Linked DNA regions of Homo sapiens: all the other regions are linked to region 1. Evidence: promoter capture Hi-C in 16 types of primary human blood cells and fetal thymus (Javierre and others, 2016). All regions are on one chromosome and are shown on one strand. The core of a region is centred on a gene start or on the middle of the fragment in contact, and the rest is flanking DNA. Distances in the headings are between cores, read along the strand shown.

Region 1 (2,875 bases), core at 361-2,860:
AAACCACATGTAAGTGAGATCATGCCTTGTCTTCCTGTGCCCAGCTTATTTCATGTAACATAATGTCCTCCATATTAATTCATGTTGTCAGAAGTGACAAGATTTCATTATTTTTTATGGGTGAATAGTACTCCACTGTGCACATATATCAAATTTTAAAAAAAATCCATCTGTAGATGGAAACCTAGTTTGATTCCATTATCTTGGCTATCATGAATAATGCTGCAATGAACATGGGAGTGCAGATACCTCTTTGACATACAAACTTCATTTCCTTTGAATATACTCACTAGAATTAGTGAATCTTATTTTATTCTAATATTCAAATTTAGTCTACCTACTGTCATGTATGTATATAAACAGATTTGAAACATTACACTAAGGATCATAACCAATTATAGTAGCCAAAAGATTAGCACCATGTAAGAGATATCATTAAATACAAATAGTTTTAAATCCTGAGTAATTTCTTCAAGAGGTACTGAGAATTTCCAATCACCAAGCAACCAACGGGAGAAAATTAAACAGTCTTTGGGTGGGCGGACTTGCCACGTGTTACGTATACCTGCAGCCTTTGTGCTCTGAGCAAACTGCCTCATGCAACCTCTGAAGCAAAAGCTGTAAAAATTCCTCCTCTAGATAGCAGCTAAGACAGGTGAGATTAAACCTAGCCCTAGCTAGTTGCAACAAACTGAATGTACGTGTAAACGTGTGTGTGTCCTGTACATGCATTCAAACACATTGCCTGGCCAGCAATTCCAACGTGTTCCAGAACAAGGCCAATCCAGTTACAAAGCAACACGCTCCCTAATTCACCAGGCCTTAGGAACTTCTGAGCGGCTATGTAACCTAGGCAACACCATCACTACGTTGAGCGCATTTTCCCAATGGCAAATTAAGAGAAAATGTTTGCTCATCTGAACGGACCTCTAAATTAAGAATCAGTAATAAGGCAAAAGCAATGAGCAAACAAGTCCCTTTAACGTATAAATAACACAGCACGTGCTGATATATTATCTCATGTGGCAAATATAGTTTCCTGGGGCCCAGCAGACGCATATCCCAGGATATGCTTTCCGAACTGTCCCATTGCAAACATAAAATATTTCATGCTAACTTGGTAGTGCAAAGGTGGCGTGGAAGTGCCACCAAATCAGGAGGCAAACCTAAAGGACGCCACAATTCCCGAACTAGAAATTTCCAGAAACTTCCGCACCACCGATGGCATTGATACAAGGGCGCTGGATCGATCTAGCCCTAGATCTCCGGGCCTGCTCCGGCGGACCAGCCTAGGCAGCCATCCCCTCCGCGAAACTGAGCAGTCACCGGCCGGAGCCGCATTCCGCCCTTGGAATCCCCCAAATCCCGGGAACCCCCGCCTCCTCGGGGCTTTTCCGCGAGCGTCAGACTCCGCTCACCTCGCTCCCCTCCGATGTCCACGTCAAAGAAGACTCGAGGGTTACTGGGGTTGGAGGGCTTGGCTTGGGGGGACGGGTGCGACATCTTGACTTGCAGACGTGTTTAGTACGGAATATCAGAGTACCTAGTGGCCGCCCGGGCCGCCCAAACTCCAGAGTCCGTCTCCGCCGGAGACCGGCAGCGACGCTGACCGGCCACTTCCGACGCAAGAACCGGAAGCCATGGCCTGACTTCCGGCACCGCCCCGCTCCCCCGCGCGGTGTTTCAAAGAGCCTGAGCGACTCCGTGCAGCGAACCGCGTGCCCTCCGCCACCTGTTCCTGGCTTCTCATTTAATGAAGTTGCGATCCCAGTTCTCATTATTCTTCTCGCTTGTGTTTCGTTGTCTTTCCCACCCTCGTGGCGTAGAGAGCTTTGGAGTCAACCCCATGCCAGCGTCAGCTCTGCCACCAAGTTGGGTGTGACTTCTCAGAAACTCAGTTTGCTCCTCTGGAAAAAGAATAAAAACGCTGACCTCGGAAGGTCGTTTTGAGGATTAAAGACATGAATCAGTACAATGCCTGGCATAAACTGGTGGTACCCAACCAATAGGAGCCTTATTATTGCCATGTCGTTACAATTTGATCTTCACATTACAATGTAAGTGGTAAGGCTTAGACTAAACGCTCCAAACAGCTAAAGCTGAGAGTCCAGAAGAGAGCACAGTTTTGATTCCTGATAAAACTGTATTTGGCGGGGCGCGGTGGCTCACGCCTGTAGTCCCAGCACATTGGGAGGCCGAGGCGGGCGGATCATTTGAGGTCAGGAGTTCGAGACCAGCCTGACCAACATGATGAAACCCGTCTCTACTAAAAATAAAAAAAAAAAAAATCACCCGGGCGTGGTGGTGCTTGCCTGTAGTCCCAGCTACTCGGGAGGCTGAGGCAGGAGAATCGCTTGAACCCGGGAGGCGGCGGTTGCAGTGAACCGAGATCGCGCCACTGTACTCCAGACTGGGTGACAGAGCGAAACTGTCCCCCCCCCCCCCAAAAAAAAGAAAAACAAAAAAATACTGTATTACTATAGCCCACTTTTCCCTTATGGGGATCTGTGTAAAACATTTACTTTTTACACACACACACACACACACACACACACACACACACACACATATATATGAGGAGAACATAGCCTTGCCTCTTAATAAAGCCTAATTTTGGAGAAGAGTGGCAATTCCCTGTGTAGATGCTTTGCCCTGTAGTTCTATTGGAGCTCAGCAATTTGGATTCAGCCTGAGGCTTACTTTATCAATAAGGCAGGAGATATCCTTAGATGCTTCACATTTTTTTTTCTTATGAGAAAGTAAAAAGTATTGGAATCCAGCACTCAAATAATGTCTCAAAAGCCAGGAGCCTTGTGTCAACAGCAGCAGCCAGAGTGGCTTTTTGGAAGGAAAGACCAGTGCTAATTTTCCCCTA
Region 2 (2,945 bases), core at 161-2,660, 720 kb after region 1:
ATTGTACTGGGAAGGCACAGGAATGGAACTAGACAGATAGGCACATGTACAGCTTGATTGGTCAAGCACGGTATCATATAGAATCTATAATAAATATTTAGTCCAGGGGCCCAGCTATCATCATTAAGTCCAAAAGAGAATGTAGGTACTTCCTAGGGGTATAACATAATGTCCTTCAAGAATATAGAACTAAGGACAATAAGACTACTCTGAAAGAATTAAATACATAACTATTCAAGAATCATCAGCATAAATATACATAATATAATCTTATAGTCCAGATCAAGTCTTGACTAAAATTATTGGCATATTTCTTTTCTTTCCCCTACAAAATACTATGTTAATTAATGAAGTGGGAGAAATTGGTCATCCATAGAAACATCAAAAACAAAAACAGATCAGCCTGTTTTAGGGGCAAATGTTGGCAACGACCACATAGGTGCACTCTGGGTAGAGAACATCTTGACCCAATGACTTGTCAGTTCTTTGAGCAGATAATATACCTTTTCTTGAGAGGATTGCATCATGTTTTGAGAGCCTGATAGTTTAACATTTAGATCTGTTAACTAACTCACATGTAAACCAGTGAGACCTGGTAACCTGAGAAGTTTGGCTATAGGAACAAAATATGCTGGCTAGATAATATGAAGTGCTAAACCCCTAACTAAATATATTTCTTGCTGAAAGTTTATAAATTGACACGCTGGCTTACACATGAGGATTTTGAAAGCTTTGTTACTATCAGTTGGTATCTTTGAACTTGGCCAATCATGAGACTTGGGAAAGTCAAACTTGTAGGTCTTTGTAAGAGTGAACTCTGTATTTTTGTTAATGTACTAAGGTACTGTCGCTCTTTGTGGCTTTGTGTCAGAAGCCTGAGGATAGTTTTGGCATTACTCCAACCTCATCATACCATTTGTGGTTGAATTTCTGCAATAATAATGGGGTATCTTAGTGTTAGTATAGACTATTACAACTGGGAACCATCAGCAGATCAGGGGCTCAGACACTGGGACCGTGTGTGTGTGTGTGTGTGTGTGTGTGTGTGTGTGTGTGTTTAGGATGCAGGAGAGGAGAATTTGGATGAGAATATGAGGTGAGCCCACAGGCAGAAGGGAATAAAGAAAGGCACTACTAGCTAATTTTTATATGCTATTTACTATGTGCCAGGTATTTTCCCAAGCTCTTTTATGTTTATTAACTCACTTAATTTTTATAAAACTCCATGGGGTAAGTACAATTGACTTCTTTATTTTAAATATAAAATTGAGACACTTAGAGGTTAAGTAAACTACCCAAGGTAGAGTAGGATTTGAACTCAGGATGTCTGGTTCTACAGTCTGTGCTTTTGACCATTAAACAACCATCATCATAGGATCATGTAAGAATTCCAGTGACTAGGAAAAGATCTCAGAGCTGGCATCTGGAATTACTTATCCCTGAGTGCTAGAGGCGGTGACTTTGTACCCCTCCTCCCTTGGGAAACTGCAGGTAACATCTTTAGTGTTTATTGAGTGACACTCTATGCTCGGTGTTAAGCTAGGCATTTTATACTATCTCCTAATAATTTAGGGTTAGTTCTAGAAGGTTCATAATGGAACCAAATGCCAGATGATGATGATAATAGTACTAATAAAAATATTGTGATACTCTATAGCAAAAACAATGATAATGAAAATAGCAGCTAATATTTGTTAAGGGCCTTCATTGTGCCAGGCATTGTGCTAAGCACCTTTTATACACTATCTCATTTATAACTTCCCCAAAGCCTGAGGTGAGGACTATCATTTGGTAGAATTGTTGCATTTTCCAGTTTTTTTTTCATTTAAGCCACAGAGAGGATAAATAGTTCACGAATGGCTCTGGTTGAGGGTAGAAGAGAACTGTAAGGAGGGAGAATCAGAATGGTTTTGAAAGTTGTGGAGATTAAATGTGTAAATATTTAGACAAGTGGTTTATATTATAAACAGCTATACGAATGAAAGATTGCTTATACTATCCACCCTGATTTTGCTGTATACTGAAAGCACTCAGAAACCAGCCGGCAGGGAACACAGTCTGCCCCATCCCACTGGAGGATGCTGGCAGCAAAAGCTTCCACCATCTGGCTTGGCAGTGCCAGGCTCTTACCTTGCCCAGGTGCCTGTGTGGATAAGATGGTGGGAGGGAAGGCAGAACCTCCGAATCCATAACTCCCAAATCCTCAAGGGAGACCAAAATATTATTCTGTTGCTTTCTGGAGTTCTCTCAATTTGAATTAAACTTTCCAGTTAAGTCCCATCCATTGGCCAAGTTAGTTTTTGGCCAACCCAATCTTACTATCTTCCATGGGTCCTGCTTGATGCTGCCTCTTCTGGAAGTGAGAATGGGCATTCATCCCTACCATGCCAATTTCTCAAGGGATAAAAAGGAAACTTCCACAAATATTTCACTTCAGTAGATGATGAAGATTCTATAAAGAGATCATACAACTAGGGAAATCTTCCCTTTTGATCATGTCACTTTCCTTTTCAAAAATCTCTGTAATTCTTCAGTGCTTGCAGAATCAATCCCCAAATCCACCAGCCATCATTCAAGGCCCATTAAAACCACACTAACTAACCATCCTTGTCCAGTCACTTCTGCCTCCTAGAGGTGCATGTGCAAGTGGGAAGTGATGGTGAAATTAACATCCTGGTGGTGAACCTCTGACTAATGGGAAACCAGACACCCTTTCCAATCCTACCAAGATGCATTTTATGTAACGTCTCAGGGGTGCAGTTCTACAGATCCAGCAATGAGTTGCATTTAGCTGTGGCCAGATCAAAAATGCATTCTTGTACTGGTTCTCCCTCCCTCCTTGCTTCCCTTCTCTTGTCACTCACTTCTGCTCCCTAATAAAGTAATAAATTATGTGCAAGGTCTCTTCTGCCTCAGGTTTTGCATTTTGGAGAAGCCAGTAAAAA
Region 3 (3,072 bases), core at 466-2,965, 640 kb after region 1:
GAAATAAATTGAGTCAAATGACCAGCTTTATAAAGACTGAAAGTGAAATCAACTTAATTCAGAGTGTTCAACACCTCAAAAATAGAAGTAAGTTTAATACAATTTAAGAAACTTTTGGCCAGGAACAGTGGGTCATACCTGTAATCTCAGCATTATGGGAGGCTGAGGCAAGAGGGATTGCTTGGTGCCAGGAATTCAAGAACCAGCCCAGGCAACAAAGCAAGACCCTATCTCTACAAAAAATAAAAAATACAGCCAGTTGTAAGGGTGTGCACCTGTAGTCCTAGCTTCTCAGGAGGCTAAAGTAGGAGGATCACTTAAGCCCAGGAGTTCAAGGCTGCAGTGATCTATGATGATGCCACTGCACTCCAGCCTGGGCAACAGGACAAGACTCTGTCTCAGAAAAGAAACATTTTAATAATATTGTATGACCTTGCCAAATGCACTGTGGTCAAATGGGGACCAATGAAGTAATAGTATCTCAACATACGTGAGGTTTTCTTTAATTTATATAGATTGAAACCTTTTTCCCCAAATAGGACTACAAAATTGGTTTTAGGATCAGGTGAGTGTCACATTTGGTATTAAGATGAAAATATGTATATGTACAATGCTTCTAGATACAGTTTAGTGAGCTAATTTACTGTGGTCCAAGCACTTTTCTAGATGCTAGATATTTACAGATTTTACTAAAGTGAACCGAGGCACCTTCGAGTTATACTTTCTTACTTTAGAGAAGTGTCTCAGGCCCTACATGGAAAAACCTACGGAGTGATCCCACCATCTTGATCACAGCTGGATTGAAGGAGGTGTCTGATCCAAGAGTTGCCAATGTGGGCTCACCAGCAGTCTGTAAGAGGGCCCTGGAATGAGTGCCGTGACCAGCCAGTAAGAAGGAAAGCAACAACTAACAACCTTAGCACATTCTCTTTGGGGAATTTCTATGAAAAGGCAAAAAAAAAGGACGCACCAAAGAAGTGAGTATTCAGAAGCCGTGACTAACAGAAGCAATGAGGATGCAGAAATCATGAGCAAGAAGGGGCCCATGAGGTCAAGAAAGCAATTCATCAAAGGCAGGAATCCTGTTAAAAACTTAAGACACTTCTTAGGGAACAATAAAATGATCTGTCATCATCACACCTGAATACAATGTCCAGTCTTAGAACAACTCCCTGAAGCTTGGCTCTGAAATGTTCTTGTTCTTCATGAGACCAGCATGGAGAGCTGTTTTTTGTGTATCCTCTCTGAATAACCATTCTGTTCTCAGCATCTAGAAACAGTGCCTGGGATAATGCCAAAGTGTTTAATAAATGAATATCATATCAAGCAACCTAAAGGACCTCAATTACACAGGTAAATTGGAGACTCAAAAATCAGACAAAATGCATGTGTGAAGGGGCATCTATAACTGCTCAGACTGGTGAATATTCAGAAGTGAAATAAATGACTCGTAACAAGGCTAGCAAGGGTTTCAGATTAATCAAAAGGAGCAAAGGATAAAAGACTGTTTAAAGAGTTCAGTTTTGTGTGACTACAGAAGTTCAGTGGAGTGAAAGGTCAATGAAGACTGAAGTGTCCATAAGAAGAGACGAGACTTCAGCTATAGCTTCAAGTATCATCTGAAGACAAGAATGAAGGCAAGAGGCAGGGCTATTGGCATGGCTGTGGGACACAGGAGTCATGCCTCATTAGATGGGACATTATGAATAGAAGATGCAGAGAAATTGGTTGGGATAAGTAGGGAGTGAGATCAGGACAAAAAATGTTTAGAGATTGTTCATTTTAGGGGATCAGTAAATGCTTATAAAAAGAAACAAGGAAGGAAAGGAGAAAGAACTGACAGAATCTTTTGATGAGACAATGGTAGGAAAGGATGACTTGATTAGTCAGGACCAGGCAGGATGGAGGGTGAGGCAGGGAAGGTAGCTAGCTGGGAAACCTGCTATCATCCAGGCCTGAGCCAGCAAAGCCCTGGAAAGTATGGTTTCAAAGGCAATTCAAAGGAAAAAAATCAATAGAATTTGGTGTCTAATAGCATATAAGAGACTTACTTAAAAGTTAAGCCAAAATTTGTAAAATGTTCAAGATTCTTATTCTGAATGCTTAAGATAAAGAGAATAGGCTGGGTACAGTGGCTCATACCTGTAATCCCAACACTGGGAAGCCAAGGTGGGAGGATCGCTTGAGCCCAGGAATTCAAGACCAGCCTGGGCAACACAGGGAGACCCTGTCTTAAAAAAAAAAAAATTATTCAAGCTTGGTAGCATGTGCCAATATGTCCCAGCAACTTGGGAGGCTGAGGTAGTAGGATCACCTGAGCCCAGCAGTTCCAGGCTGCAAGTGAGCTATGATCGTACCACTGCACTTTAGCCTGGGTAAGAGAGTAAGAACTCATCTCAGGGGAAAAAAAAAAAAAATTAACATTGACAAAGATAAGGAAGTTGCAGAAAATGTTAATTTTTAAAACTGAGTCAAAAAAATTCTTGTCCACGGGATTCAAAGTTCCACACTGTTTCCGTTGTACCTTCTGTTAATACATCCATAAGGTAAGGCTCTGGATGTGGTTGAGGAAGGGGGCATTCTACCCTCTTCAGGTACAATTACAGTACTGGTGAGTCCACACAGTTTATTCACTGCATTTTCCAAAACATCTGATTTTTTTTTTTTTTTTTTGAGACCGAGTATTGCTCTGTCGCCCAGGCTGGAGTGTGATCTTGGCTCACTGCAACCTCTGCCTCCCGGGTTCAAGTGATTCTCCTGCCTCAGCCTCCTGAGCAGCTGGGACTACAGGCACGTGCCACCACGCCCAGCTAATTTTTGTATTTTTAGTAGAGACGCGGTTTCCCCAGGCTGACCAAGATGGTCTCGATCTCTTGACTTCGTGATCCGCCCGCCTCAGCCTTCCAAAGTGCTGGGATTACAGGCGTGAGCCGCCGCGCCCGGCCATCTGATTCATTCTTTTGTGTCATTGTAAAGGTTGTGAATCATTGAGCGCAGGCACTACGTCTAACCAAGCTATTTCTAGCACCCCTGCAAAATTAAAATTATTTGCTCACATGCAAAACTAGGCCC
Region 4 (3,057 bases), core at 497-2,996, 660 kb after region 1:
TCCTATTTTAGTCTATAGGAACATGCCCCTGAGTGCGTAGCAAGCAAGTTTGCCCTTGTTACATATATCCCTTTCAGAGTTCACAGCAGGGTATAGCTTCCATTATGCAGATTGTTGATCCTTTTTCCTTTTTTTTAAGCTCTCGTGACCACTAAATCTGCATAATAAGCAACTAAAATGATTTCTGTTGGAAGAAAGTTTTTTTTTTTTTTTTCCTTACTGTCTTCACTCCCAAATGCACCCAGGTCAAAATTTAGCAACGCTTGGCTTGAAATGGCATCCATGTTTTGTTATGGTAATTTTTTATTTTTAAATGCAGAAGTGATTTAGTAGTAAAATCCTGCTTGCTGGTTAGAGGTCGTGGGAATGCCTCTCCATCTGAATGGAAAGAAATTGGTTTTAAATTATTAGATGGCCAAAGGCTTATAGAGAGTGGAGTTAGAGAAGCAGCTTATGACCTTCACCTACACTTGAACTGGAATGGTAATCTACATTTCCAAAGGCACTAAGCGTTCCAATTTAAATTTCTGTGGTGACACTTGAAAAGATTGATCATTCTATCCTGAGAGGAGATGAAGGAATGAGGGTGAGGGGTTATGAGCAGGCAACACTGCCTGCTCAGTAGGAGCTGACAATCAACTAGGATAGCCCCAATTTCCTGTTGCAATATTTAACTCACTTTTGTGTTTACATTTGATAAACACAAGTTTAGAGATTCAAGAATTAGAACATCTCTTGTCTCACTCCAGCTACAAATATTGATTAAAATGGGAAAGATTGTTTATTGTAAATTGCATTTATCTTCATGATGTGGGAACAATGTAGGTTTTCAATGAATGCTTCTTTGTGTGTGAAAGATATGTGAATAAACCAATTTCAATTTTTTTTTAATTTTTAATTATTAATTTTAAATTGACAATAATAATTGCATAATATTTATGTGGTACAATGATGTCTTAATGTATGTGTGCATTGTGGAATGAGCAGACCAGGCTAATTAACATATTCATCACCTCACAAGCTTATCATTTCTCTGCAGGGCAAACATTTATAAACTACTCTTTTGGCAATTTTAAAATATACAATACATTATTGTTAACTGTAGCCACTTTGATATGCAATAGATCACTAGAACTTATTCTTCCTAACTAAAACGGCCTAATTTCGAAATTCTGAAATCTTACTTTACATTTTACTTTGTATTTTTAGAATGTAATATCTTTGAAGGCAGTGATATGTTTCCTTCAAAGACTTTAATGAATGCAGTGTGTCAAAAATACACTGATTAATGTGGATACATAATAATGATGTCACAGTTTTGTCAGGCTCATAGTCTCCCCTATTGAATAACATAAACCTGAGAAAATGATGAGATAAAGCTGATTTTTTTCAAGATGAGAAGGAAGAAAATTTGGATATTTAAGAATTTAAAATAAAATGACAAATTAATCCTTCAGAATTATGTTTGAGAATGCTAAAAATTAGCCTTTCTTGAGTAAAAAACAAAAGTGTATGTCAGAAGAGACCTCTTGTGTGTATAATAGCTTACTGCAGTTTCTTTAAAAAAAAAAAATCCACTTCTGGAAGATAGAATGAATATACTATTCCCAAAGCCCAACCCTTAAGGAGGCCAATGCCTTATCCATTGAATGAATGTACTATTCCCTATTGCTTTCACAAAGTACAACTACAAACCCTAGACTTTACATATTAAACAAGCATATGATGACTCTGAAAGGTGGAGAAGGCTGACTGGCTGGAGACCACAGGACCAGAGGCAGTGTGTTCCCTGGGTTTTCTTTTTAACTCACATATCCCAGACTCATAGATAAAGAAACTCGTAACCCCGAAATACCAATGAATGCACGCCAAACAAAACAAAACAAAACAAAAATTACCAAAAGCCTGCCCTCTCCAGCTGAAAGAACAAGAGATGGGTAGCTAATGAGACAGATAATGATTAGACAGGCTGGGCGCAGTGGCTCACGCTTGTAATCCCAGAACTTTGGGAGGCCAAGGTGGGTGGATAGCTCGAGCTCAGGAGTTCAAGACCAGCCTGCTGGGCAACATAGCAAGACACCATCTCTATTTAAAAAAAATATATGTACACACACACACACACACACACACACACACACACACACATAAAAATACATATATGAGACAAAGATTGGACAATAACTGCTCCACTCCAGCCAAACACCACAGAAAAAATGTTAGCCCCACTCCCAGTGAAAGCTCAAGAGGAAGCAGACTTGCACTGTCCCCAGGATGTAATGGCAGTAGCACCAGCCTCCACCTCCCACTCTCTCACTGGACAAGTGTCAGAGAAAACTGAGTAGGGAGATGGAACTTTCATCCCTCTCATGCAGTGTCAGTGGATACCACATGGATTTCCACACCTATCCAGTGGTAATGAGATGCCTTTGCCCCTTCCTTCTAGGGTGGCCTCAAAGGAGACCTACTGGAGACAAAGCTTTCACCTAAGCCACTTCTCCAACATAATGTCAGGCCAAGAGGGGAGCAGTAATAAGGTTCTTCTACCCCTCCCAGCCAGGAGTAGAGGCTGAATGCGAAGCAGGACTTCCACTCTCACCTAACAGTCATGAGTAGCCCCTCCCCTCAGGTCTCAGTGGGAGCCAGGTGGGAACCTGAAACTTGACCTCATCTGGCAGTAATCAGGCAGCTCACTCCCCACTCCCATTTTCCTTTGCAAGAAATTTAAATAAGATCCCAAACCTCAATATAATACACAAATATCTAGGTTTTAATAGAAAAATCACTCATACCAAGAATAAAGAAGACCTCAAACTGAATGAAAAAAAGATAATAAATAGATCCTAACACTGAAACGACAGCAATGTTAGAATTATCTGATAAAGGTCTCAAGGAAATCATCATATGTTTCAGTAAGCATTATAAACATGCTTGAAACAAATAAAAAATAGACAGTATTATATCAGCAAAGAAATAAAAGATATACAAAAAGATAAATGAAAAGTTTAGAACTGAAAAATATAATAGCTAAAATTCAGTGAATGGACTCAAAACAGTATA
Region 5 (3,162 bases), core at 415-2,914, 700 kb after region 1:
CACATATTATATATATACATATTATAGATATACAATTATATATATATTTATATATACATATATACATATTATATACACATATATACATATTATATATATTATATATATACATATTATATGTGTGTGTGTATATATATATATATTTTTTTTGAGATGGAGTTTCACTCTTGTTACGCAGGTTGGAGCACAATGGTGTGATCTCGGCTCACTGCAACCTCTGCCTCCCGGGTTCAAGCGATTCTCCTGCCTCAGCCTCCTGAGTAGCTGGGATTACAGGCATGCGCCACCACGCTCGGCTAACTTTGTATTTTTGGTAGAGACGGGGTTTCACCATGTTGGTCAGGCTGGTCTTGAACTCCCGACCTCAGGTGATCCACCCGCCTCGGCCTCTGAAAGTGGTGGGATTACAGGCGTGAGCCACTGCACCTGGCCAGTTGGACATATTGACTTATACCTTACAGTAGAGATCTGGGCCAGAGATGTAAATTTATGATTTTATATGGTAATTAAACCAAGGATATGAATGAGATTTCCTAGGAAAAAAAGTATATAGTGAGAAGGAGAGAGGCCAAGAGAGGAACTCTGGAATTTAATTGTTTAGTAGAAAGTATGACTGAGAAGGAGCAGCCGGAGGAGTAGGAGGAAAACCCAGAGCAGGAGACAGTGGGAATGCCCGACAGTGTTGGATGCACTGAAGATATCAAGCAAGGGGTTTAAAATACTGAAAGCATTTGGTGAAGTGGAGGTCTTGTGTGACATTAGTGAGAGTTATTTATATGAAATGATGGGTGGAAACCAGATAAGAGATACCTGAAAAGTGAGTGAGAGAGGATGAAAGGGGAATGGTTGGAATATATAGCTCTGTGAAGGAAGAAGAGGTAGGCCAGAAGCTAGAAGGGAGATGTGAGGTCTTTCATGTACGTCCGTGTGAAGAGACTACCAAACAGGCTTTGTGTGAGCAACATGGCTGTTTATTTCACCTGGGTGCAGGCAGGCTGAGTCTGAAAAGAGAGTCAGCAAAGGGAGATAGGGGTGGGGCCGTTTTATAAGATTTAGGTAGGTAAAGGAAAATTACAGTCAAAGGGGGTTTGTTCTCTGGCGGGCAGGAGTGGGGGTTGCAAGGTGCTCAGTGGGGGAGCTTTTTGAGCCAGGATGAGCCAGGAAAAGGACTTTCACAAGGTAATGTCATCACTTAAAGCAAGGAATGGCCATTTTCACTTCTTTTGCGGTGGAATGTTATCAGTTAAGGCGGGGCAGGTCATTTTCACTTCTTTTGTGATTCTTCAGTTACTTCAGGCCATCTGGACATATACATGAAAGTCACAGGGGATGCGATGGCTTGGCTTGGGCTCAGAGGCCTGACAAGGTCCATAGTGGTTTGTTTATTCATTTTTTTCTTTGCATATGTTTAAATGTGAATGGGAAGGAACCAGTCAGGAGGGAAATGTTGACTTCATGATACAGCAAGTTTTCTGAGAGGGGAGTGCTTTGAATCCCTATCGCTCTACCCTCCCACAGGCCTCTCAGATTACTTTAGGAAGGAGATTTCTGTTATAATAGGAAAAGTACGGCTACAGCTGCAGGTAATGTTATATGTTTGGTAGAAGTAGATGGGAGGCTTCTAATTTGCTTCTTTTATATTTACCTAAAGTAGAAAATAAAGCTATTTCCTGAGAATGAGAAAAGTTCTGTGAGGGGTTGGGGGGGAGGTGTAGGAGTGTTAGTAGGAGGATTCAAGAGACTAGGGAAACATAGAGAAGTATTCCAGTTATCTATGGCTGCCTAACCAACCATCTCAAAGTTTAGCGGCATGATTATTTCATTGTGCTCATAGACTTTGTGAACCAGGAATTTGGACAAAGCACAGTGAGGACAGCTTCTGTATTGCATGGTAGAGGCTCTATTGCCACTGCACCCGGGCTCCTAACTGTTTTTCAAACTTATATTGAACTACTCGGTTCACCTTCTGGGGTGGCTGTCTTTGATGATACTGTCTCTATGGCGGCAGGTATCATAAAGTCACACTGACATGCTCATTCACAGAAATCATATCGAGCACTTAAGACTGACGTATTTGCTTTTCTTCTTTTAACCTCATTCTTTTTTTTCTAAAGATTTTTATTTTATTAATGTTTTATTTATTTTTTGTTATAGGGACAGAGCTATAAACATACATTTTCCATTCATTCTAGAATTGCCTTTTCTCTCTCCAACCTGGTTAGAAGGCTTTCAAATCACCAGCTTAAACACCATCACTTCTTTGAAGCCTTAACTGATTTCCTTATTTTGTTGGTGGTCCCAAAGCATTTGGTTTGAGTTCTTAAGTACCATACCTAGAACAGTTGTTCCCAAATTTGTCAGTGCAGTATCATCACCTGCAAATCATTTAAGAAAGGCAGATTTCAGGGTCACACCCCAAACCTACTGAGTCATTCCTTTTGGGCACACAGTGATCAACAATTATGTAATTGTTAGTTGATTGATAGACATTTGCATAAGACACCTGTAGGCCCATTAGACTCTTTTTTTTTTTTTTTGAGGTGGAAACTTGCTCTGTCTCCCAGGCTGGAGTGCAGTGGCATGATCTCAACTCACTGCATCCTCTAACTCTCAGGTTCAAACAATTCTCCTGGCTCAGCCTCCTGAATAGCTGGGACTATAGGCATGCACTACCACACTTGGCTAATTTTTTATTTTTTTTAATTTTTATTTTTTTAGTAGAGATGATGCAGATAGGCGACAGGGAAATACTGGGTGGAAGAGGGTGGTTCTGTGGCAAAGGCCCCACCATCACACCTGAAGACCCCCAGCTCTAAATGAGGACAGGCATTCCTGTTTTTCACACCCAAAAAGTTGCCCTGTGGCTCACCACATCCTCTATCCTCCACCCATATAAATCCTGAACCCCAGGTTCCAGAAGCAGACAAGCAAGCCAGCAGACCAGCAGACGAATGGTAGAACAGCATGGCAGAGAAAGAGAGAAGAGGAGAAACAGCTGAACACCTAGAGGAGTTCAGATAGAGGTGGTTGGAGAGGAGTCCGGCTGCTGGGCAGCCTGACTCCAGGGGAAGATCACCTTCCTACTCCACCCCCACCTTCGGGGTCCCCATGCACCCTGCTGAAAGTGACCTTCACCTCACATTCATCCTTCAAGCCCTTGTG
Region 6 (2,861 bases), core at 45-2,544, 740 kb after region 1:
AATTTTTGCTTTCCTTTTTCATCTGCTCCATAGCCTCTCTGCTAAACATAGTACCAATTATTGCTCTTTCTAGATTTAGAAATAGATTGTTTGAAGCTGGGCTTTGTGTCAAGTGTTCCCCAGTAAAATTATAATTTACCTCAGAAACCTTATCTCATTGCTATGTGACTGTTTTCCTTAAGGTGGGAAGTACTGACACAGTAGAACACTAGGGGTCAGAGCGTCTCAGACCAAGTCAGTGCTTGCTTACAAACCAGGGGCGACCTGGGGAAATCTCTTCTAGCTTTAGTTTTCTCATTTGTAAAATTAAATTATTTCTAAGATCTCATGTTCAAATGCTTGTGTCATTAATTTCCAAGTCCAAGTGGGGGACAAATGATAGGATCTAGAACAATGTAATAAATAGTTAAGAGCCTAAGGTATAGAGTCTATCTGCCAGGGTTTGAACCTTGGCTCTACCAATTACTGACCTCTAACTTTTAGTCAGCTACTGTTGTAAAATGGATTTTCCAGAAGCAGACACTGAGTAGTTTGGTGCAGGATAGTTAGGGATAAATACAAATAAAAGGAAGGAGAAGGAAGCAAGATTGTAAAGAGAGTGAAACTGAACTGTGATGTAGGCCTGACAAAGCCTTGGCCAATCCTATGGAGAACTCTGGAGCTTATGCACCTGTCAGATCTGTCCCATGGTTTAGGCCTTTAAACCCTTTTGTGATTCATTACTTTATCAAGTAATAAAGCTTCACATCAAGCCTTATTACTTGATAAAGGCTTCCCTGGAAAGGCTATACCCTTGAGCAAGGTGGTTCTCTGCAGCCAAGGAAAGAGCTGGAAGAACAAGTCATTTCTTGAAGGAGAATTTGGTGGTGCATTTCCACTACAGCTACATGACCCTTTCATGTCTCAGTTTCCTTGTTAACCAAGATGTCATAACAATAGAGTTTACATCTAAGGGTATTGTGACAACTAAATGGATTATTATATAGAAAGTGCCTTGAACAGCAGAGAGGGATACAGAAAGCTCTTGATATCTATTACTGATGATGATGATAATAATTATAATGCTGTAGAATTTTAAAGCTGTCAGGGGAGTTAGAGATAATGTCATTCAGTGGTTCTCAAATTTCAGCATGTATCAGAATCACTTGGAGGGCTTGTTAAAACACAGGTTGCTAGACTGTATCCCTAGAGTTTTTGACTCAGTAGGTTTTGGATGGAGCTTGAGAAGTTTTACTTCTAGTTCATAGAGTCTTTCTTCTGCTTGATCAAGTCTTCTACTGATGCTTTCTATTGCATTTTTCATTTCATTTGTTGCATTTTTCAACTCTGAGATTTCTGTTTGATTTTGATTTTTATTACTTCAATCTTTGTTAAATTTCTCTGATAAATTTCTAAGTTGTTTCTCTGTGTTTCCTTATAGTTCATTGAGTTTCCTTAAATATAGCTATTTTAATTTTCTTGTCTGACAGATCACACACCTCCATTCCTTTAGGGTTAGTCATTGTTACCTTATTTTTCCCCTTTGGTAAGGTCATATTTTCCTGCTTATTTTTGATTCTCGTTGACATGTGCTGATGTCTATGCATTGAATAATTAGTATTTATTCCAGTCTTCACAGTCTGGCTTTGTTTGTGCCTGTCCTTCTTCAGTAGGCCTGCCCAGAAGTTCTAAGCAGGCTGATTTGTGTTCCCTAAGCTCATTACTGCTACAGCTATTTCAGCCTTAGTGAGCACCAGAAGACCAGGTTTGCTGTGAGTCTCACAAGGGCTTCAAGGTTGGAGTGGTGACCCAGTCCAGAAGACTTGTGGAAGACCCAAGTAGGGTACCTAGGCTGTGTGGGAAAGCTGGCCAAGCTTGGAAACTCCCGACTGTCCCGAAGGCCCAGATAGGTGCACTGCCAGCAGTTCCCTGAACAGGTAGGACAATCTTCAGCCTGCAAGAGGGGTTCAAGCTGAGACTTGGCTCCTTCAGAATCTGCTGTGGGATGGAAGATGGTGACCCTTCCTCAGTGGCTCAGACAGGCTCACATCTACCAGCAGTTCCCTGCCTAGGTGGGATAGTCCCTTGACTGCAGCAAGAGGGGGCAAAACTGAGACTGGTCCCCTTCAGGATCTGCTGTGGGATGGAGGCTGGCAAGCCTGTCAGGGAGTCTCAGTCAGGTGAGTAACTCCCAGGCTGTGACATATGGGCAAGTCTTCCTCTAGGTTCTTGTGTGAGCAGTACTAATCTGGGACTACAGCTGAGAAGGGCTAGAAGCTGAACCACAGGGCAACTTTCAGGTCCATTGCCAAGATCAATGTCAGTGAGCAGATGAGCCTCTCTGCCAAGATACTAACATGGGATTGTTCACAGACTCCTTGGCAGATGGTTTTGGTAAAGCTGAAGGCCAGGTGGGGCTACAGCCAAACACTTTGGGTAACAGGGGTTTCTGGGCTTGAACCCGGGAGCATAACCAGCAGGTCTGCCACCTGAGTGTGAGTTTGCGTTCTCAAAACACCCTCCCAGGTCTTAGGCTTCAGTGGGGTTCCACAGCCTCCTATCTGAACCCCAAGGCTCCCACAAAGAAACTTTTGTCTATGGATGGATGCAGAATTCTTGTCCTGAAGGGATACAAGCAGGTGACCTCCTATTCTGCCATCTTGCTGGCCTTACTCTCTAATTTATCTAATCCTTCTTTCCTTCCTTCCTTCCTTCCTTCCTTCCTTCCTTCCTTCCTTCCTTCCTTCCTTCCTTCCTTCCTTCCTCCCTCCCTCCCTCCCTCCCTCCTTCCCTTCCTTCCTTTTCTTTTTTTTGAGACGGAGTCTTGCTCTGTCACCCAGGCTGGAGTGCAGTGGTGTGATCTCGGCTCACTGCAGGCTCCA
Region 7 (2,967 bases), core at 460-2,959, 680 kb after region 1:
TCTCGGCTCACTGCAACCTCTACCTCTCAGGTTGAAGCGATTCTCCTGCCTCAGCCTCCCAAGTAGCTGGGATTACAGGCATGCACCACCATGGCTGGCTAATTTTGTATTTTTTGTAGAGATGGGATTGCTCCATGTTGGTCGGGCTGGTCTTGAATTCCCGACCTCGTGATTCGCTTGCCTCAGCCTCCCAAAGTGCTGGAATTACAGGCGTGAGCCACCGCGCTTGGCCTACATAGATTCTTCTAATGTTCATTTCTCAGTCATCTTCACTGAACTTTTAGCAGCATTTGATCCAGCTGCTTATTCCCTTTTGGAACACTGTGTTCCCTTGGCTTCCAGGGCTCCATTTTCCCGCTTTTCTTTTTCCTTCCCTAGTTGCTCCTTCTCAGCCTCTTTTGCTGACTCCTCCTCCTCTTTCTCACTTTCAAATGCTGGAATGCCCACAGGCTCAGTCTTTAGACTCTTGTTTTCTTTTCTACACTTATTTTCTCCTAGATGATCTCATACAGTTTTATGGTTGAAAAGATCTATATATATGCTGAAAATTCTCAGATTTACTTCCCCAACCTAGGACACTCTGAAATTCTAAATGCATAAATCAACTGTTCTTTCTACATATCGACTTGATTTCTAATGGGAACCCCCAGCTTTATTAAGAAATAATTGACAAATAAAGCTATATACATATATATATATAGTGTACAACATAATATTTTGATATATATGTACATTGTGATATGATTAAATCAATCTAATTAACTCAAATGGGGATCTTGATTATTAAATATCCAACGCCAAACTCTTCATTATACTGCTCAAATCTCTTCCCCCTACAGTGGCTCATGTATTAGTACACGGCATCGCTATTCACCATGTTAGTTCTACAATTTCAACAACCTGGAATGAACTATCTTCTTTTCTCTCATGATCCACATGCAACCCGTCATCACCTCTTATAGACTCTACCTTCAGAATATGTCCTTTCTGCTGGGCACAGTGGCTCACACCTGTAATCCCAGCACAAGCTGGAAAACAGCATGGGCCATGTAGCAAGACCCTATCTCTACAAAATATTTAAAAATTAGCCAGGCATGGTGACACATGCCTGTAGTCCTATCTACTTGGGAGGCTGATGTGGAAGAATTGCTTGAGCCCAGGAGTTCAAGGCTACAATGAACTAGGATTGCACCACTGCACTACAACCTAGGTGACAGAGTAAGGCCCCATCTCTAAAATAAAAGAAAAAGACAAAACTTTCTTTTCACCTCCCCCGCCAGAACCTATCCCAAGTCATCATCTGTTTCCTGCAATAGTCTCTTGAGTTTTATTCTTACTCCCCTCTATTCTATTCTCTACACAACTGCCAGGTTGATCTACTGACATGTAATCAGATCATGTCATGACCTACTCAGAATCCCATGGTGACTTATCTCTAGTTTATTGTGGTGGCGATGTCTATTTGGGAAAACAGCATTGCACATAGCATTGCTTCCAATCAAGGAACTCACTTCACAGCAGATGAAGTGTGGCAATGGGCCCATGCTCATGGAATTCACTGGTTTTACCACATCTCCCACCATCTGAGGCAGCTGGCTTGATAGAACGGTGAAATGGCCTTATGCAGACTCAGCTGACACAGTTTCAGGACCCGCTAGGTGACAATACCTTGCGGGGCTGGGCAAAGTGCCCTCCAGAAGGCTGTATGTGCTCTGAATCAGCATCCAATATATGTTGCTGTTTCTCCCATGGGCAGAATTTACGGGTTCAGAAATCAAGGGGTGGAAATGGGAGTGGTACCATTCACTATTACTCTCAGTAACCGACTAGCAAGATTTTTGCTTCCTATTCCTGAGAACTTATGGTCTACTGGCCTAGAGGTCTTAGTTTCAAAGGGAGAAATGCTTCCACCAGGAGATATATTGATTCCATTGAACTGGGAGTTAAGATAGCTGCCTGGCTACTTTGGGTTTCTCATGCCTCTGAGTCGACAGGCAAAGAAGGGAGTTATGATATTGACTAGGGTGATTCCTGATTACCAAGAGAAAATCTGACTGCTACTCCACAGTGGAGGTAAGGAAGAATATGCCTGGAATACAGGTGGTCCCTTAGGGCATCTCTTACTATTACCATATCCTATGATTAAGGTCAATGGAAATCCATGACAACCCCTGCAAGGCAGGCCTCATAGACTATACCCTTCTGAAATGAAGGTTTGGGTCTCCCCACCATGTAAAGGACTACAACTAGCTAAGGTGCTTACTGAAGGTAAAGGGAATATAGAATGGTTAGTGGAAGAAGATAGTTATAAAACCATGACCATATAACCAGTTACAGAAATAGAGACTGTAATTGTCATGAGTATTTCTGCCTTATATTTGTGTGTGTGTATGTGTGTGTATTAAGCAAATAACTTGTTTTATTCCCTTACCATGTAACATAGGATGTATTGACTTTATCTCATAATATTTAAGTATTGCTGATTCTAAATCCTAGTATTTAAGTTACAGGATATCAAGGAAAAGAGTAAACACCGCACAAGGACTTTACCTCATGTTCTGGAGAAGAGGTTCGTGTGTTTTGGTTGGATGTAGGATAGTTATACCATGTTAGGAAAAATTATGGCCTTGTTATTGCCCTTACTTGACGATTAAGTATTGTTTGAGGAGATGATTATGGGTTCAAATTGACAAAGGGTGATTTGTGATGATTATTTTTAAATGTCAACTTGACTAGGCCATGGGGTGTGTAAGCATTTGGTCAGACAAATGTTTGTGCCTGTGAGGGTATTTCTGGACAAGGTTAGCATTTAAACTGATAGACTGAGTAAAGCAGATTGTCCTCCATAATGTATATGGGTCCCTGCAAACAGCTGAAGGCCTGAATAAAACAAAACGGCTGACCCTCCTGTGAGTAGGAGGAGATTCCTCCTGCCTGACTACCTTTGAGCTAGGACATTGATATTTT

What was found. The method cuts DNA at HindIII sites, captures the fragments that hold promoters and counts their contacts. A CHiCAGO score of 5 or more calls a contact.
Region 2: a contact is called between a fragment that was not itself captured here and the fragment with the promoter of PPID in region 1, in 3 of 17 cell types (megakaryocytes, erythroblasts and endothelial precursors). The highest score is 9.0, in megakaryocytes.
Region 3: a fragment that was not itself captured here is called in contact with the fragment with the promoter of PPID in region 1 in 5 of 17 cell types (erythroblasts, endothelial precursors, megakaryocytes and 2 more); the score reaches 9.6 in erythroblasts.
Region 4: a contact is called between a fragment that was not itself captured here and the fragment with the promoter of PPID in region 1, in 5 of 17 cell types (endothelial precursors, megakaryocytes, erythroblasts and 2 more). The highest score is 14.3, in endothelial precursors.
Region 5: a fragment that was not itself captured here is called in contact with the fragment with the promoter of PPID in region 1 in 5 of 17 cell types (endothelial precursors, M2 macrophages, megakaryocytes and 2 more); the score reaches 8.9 in endothelial precursors.
Region 6: a contact is called between a fragment that was not itself captured here and the fragment with the promoter of PPID in region 1, in 3 of 17 cell types (endothelial precursors, megakaryocytes and erythroblasts). The highest score is 12.6, in endothelial precursors.
Region 7: a fragment that was not itself captured here is called in contact with the fragment with the promoter of PPID in region 1 in 3 of 17 cell types (endothelial precursors, megakaryocytes and M2 macrophages); the score reaches 8.7 in endothelial precursors.

What each region holds. Positions count from the first base shown.
Region 1 is chr4:158,721,786-158,724,660 of GRCh38, forward strand. It overlaps PPID (peptidylprolyl isomerase D), which reads right to left and starts at 1,611. Exons shown (of 10, transcript NM_005038.3): 1 at 1,419-1,611. The coding sequence starts at 1,503. RefSeq lists enhancers at 1,021-1,604, 1,238-1,717, 1,605-2,189. The HindIII fragment of the contact is 3,604 bases long and covers 1-2,875 here.
Region 2 is chr4:159,442,222-159,445,166 of GRCh38, forward strand. No RefSeq gene overlaps it. Among named protein-coding and RNA genes, the nearest start is that of MIR3688-1, 310 kb to the left of the region's middle. The HindIII fragment of the contact is 1,364 bases long and covers 729-2,092 here.
Region 3 is chr4:159,362,556-159,365,627 of GRCh38, forward strand. No RefSeq gene overlaps it. Among named protein-coding and RNA genes, the nearest start is that of MIR3688-1, 240 kb to the left of the region's middle. The HindIII fragment of the contact is 1,078 bases long and covers 1,177-2,254 here.
Region 4 is chr4:159,383,315-159,386,371 of GRCh38, forward strand. No RefSeq gene overlaps it. Among named protein-coding and RNA genes, the nearest start is that of MIR3688-1, 260 kb to the left of the region's middle. RefSeq lists enhancers at 1-362, 363-936. The HindIII fragment of the contact is 1,455 bases long and covers 1,020-2,474 here.
Region 5 is chr4:159,424,476-159,427,637 of GRCh38, forward strand. No RefSeq gene overlaps it. Among named protein-coding and RNA genes, the nearest start is that of MIR3688-1, 300 kb to the left of the region's middle. The HindIII fragment of the contact is 6,952 bases long and covers 1-3,162 here.
Region 6 is chr4:159,463,220-159,466,080 of GRCh38, forward strand. No RefSeq gene overlaps it. Among named protein-coding and RNA genes, the nearest start is that of LINC02233, 310 kb to the right of the region's middle. The HindIII fragment of the contact is 1,113 bases long and covers 739-1,851 here.
Region 7 is chr4:159,404,934-159,407,900 of GRCh38, forward strand. No RefSeq gene overlaps it. Among named protein-coding and RNA genes, the nearest start is that of MIR3688-1, 280 kb to the left of the region's middle. The HindIII fragment of the contact is 6,655 bases long and covers 1-2,967 here.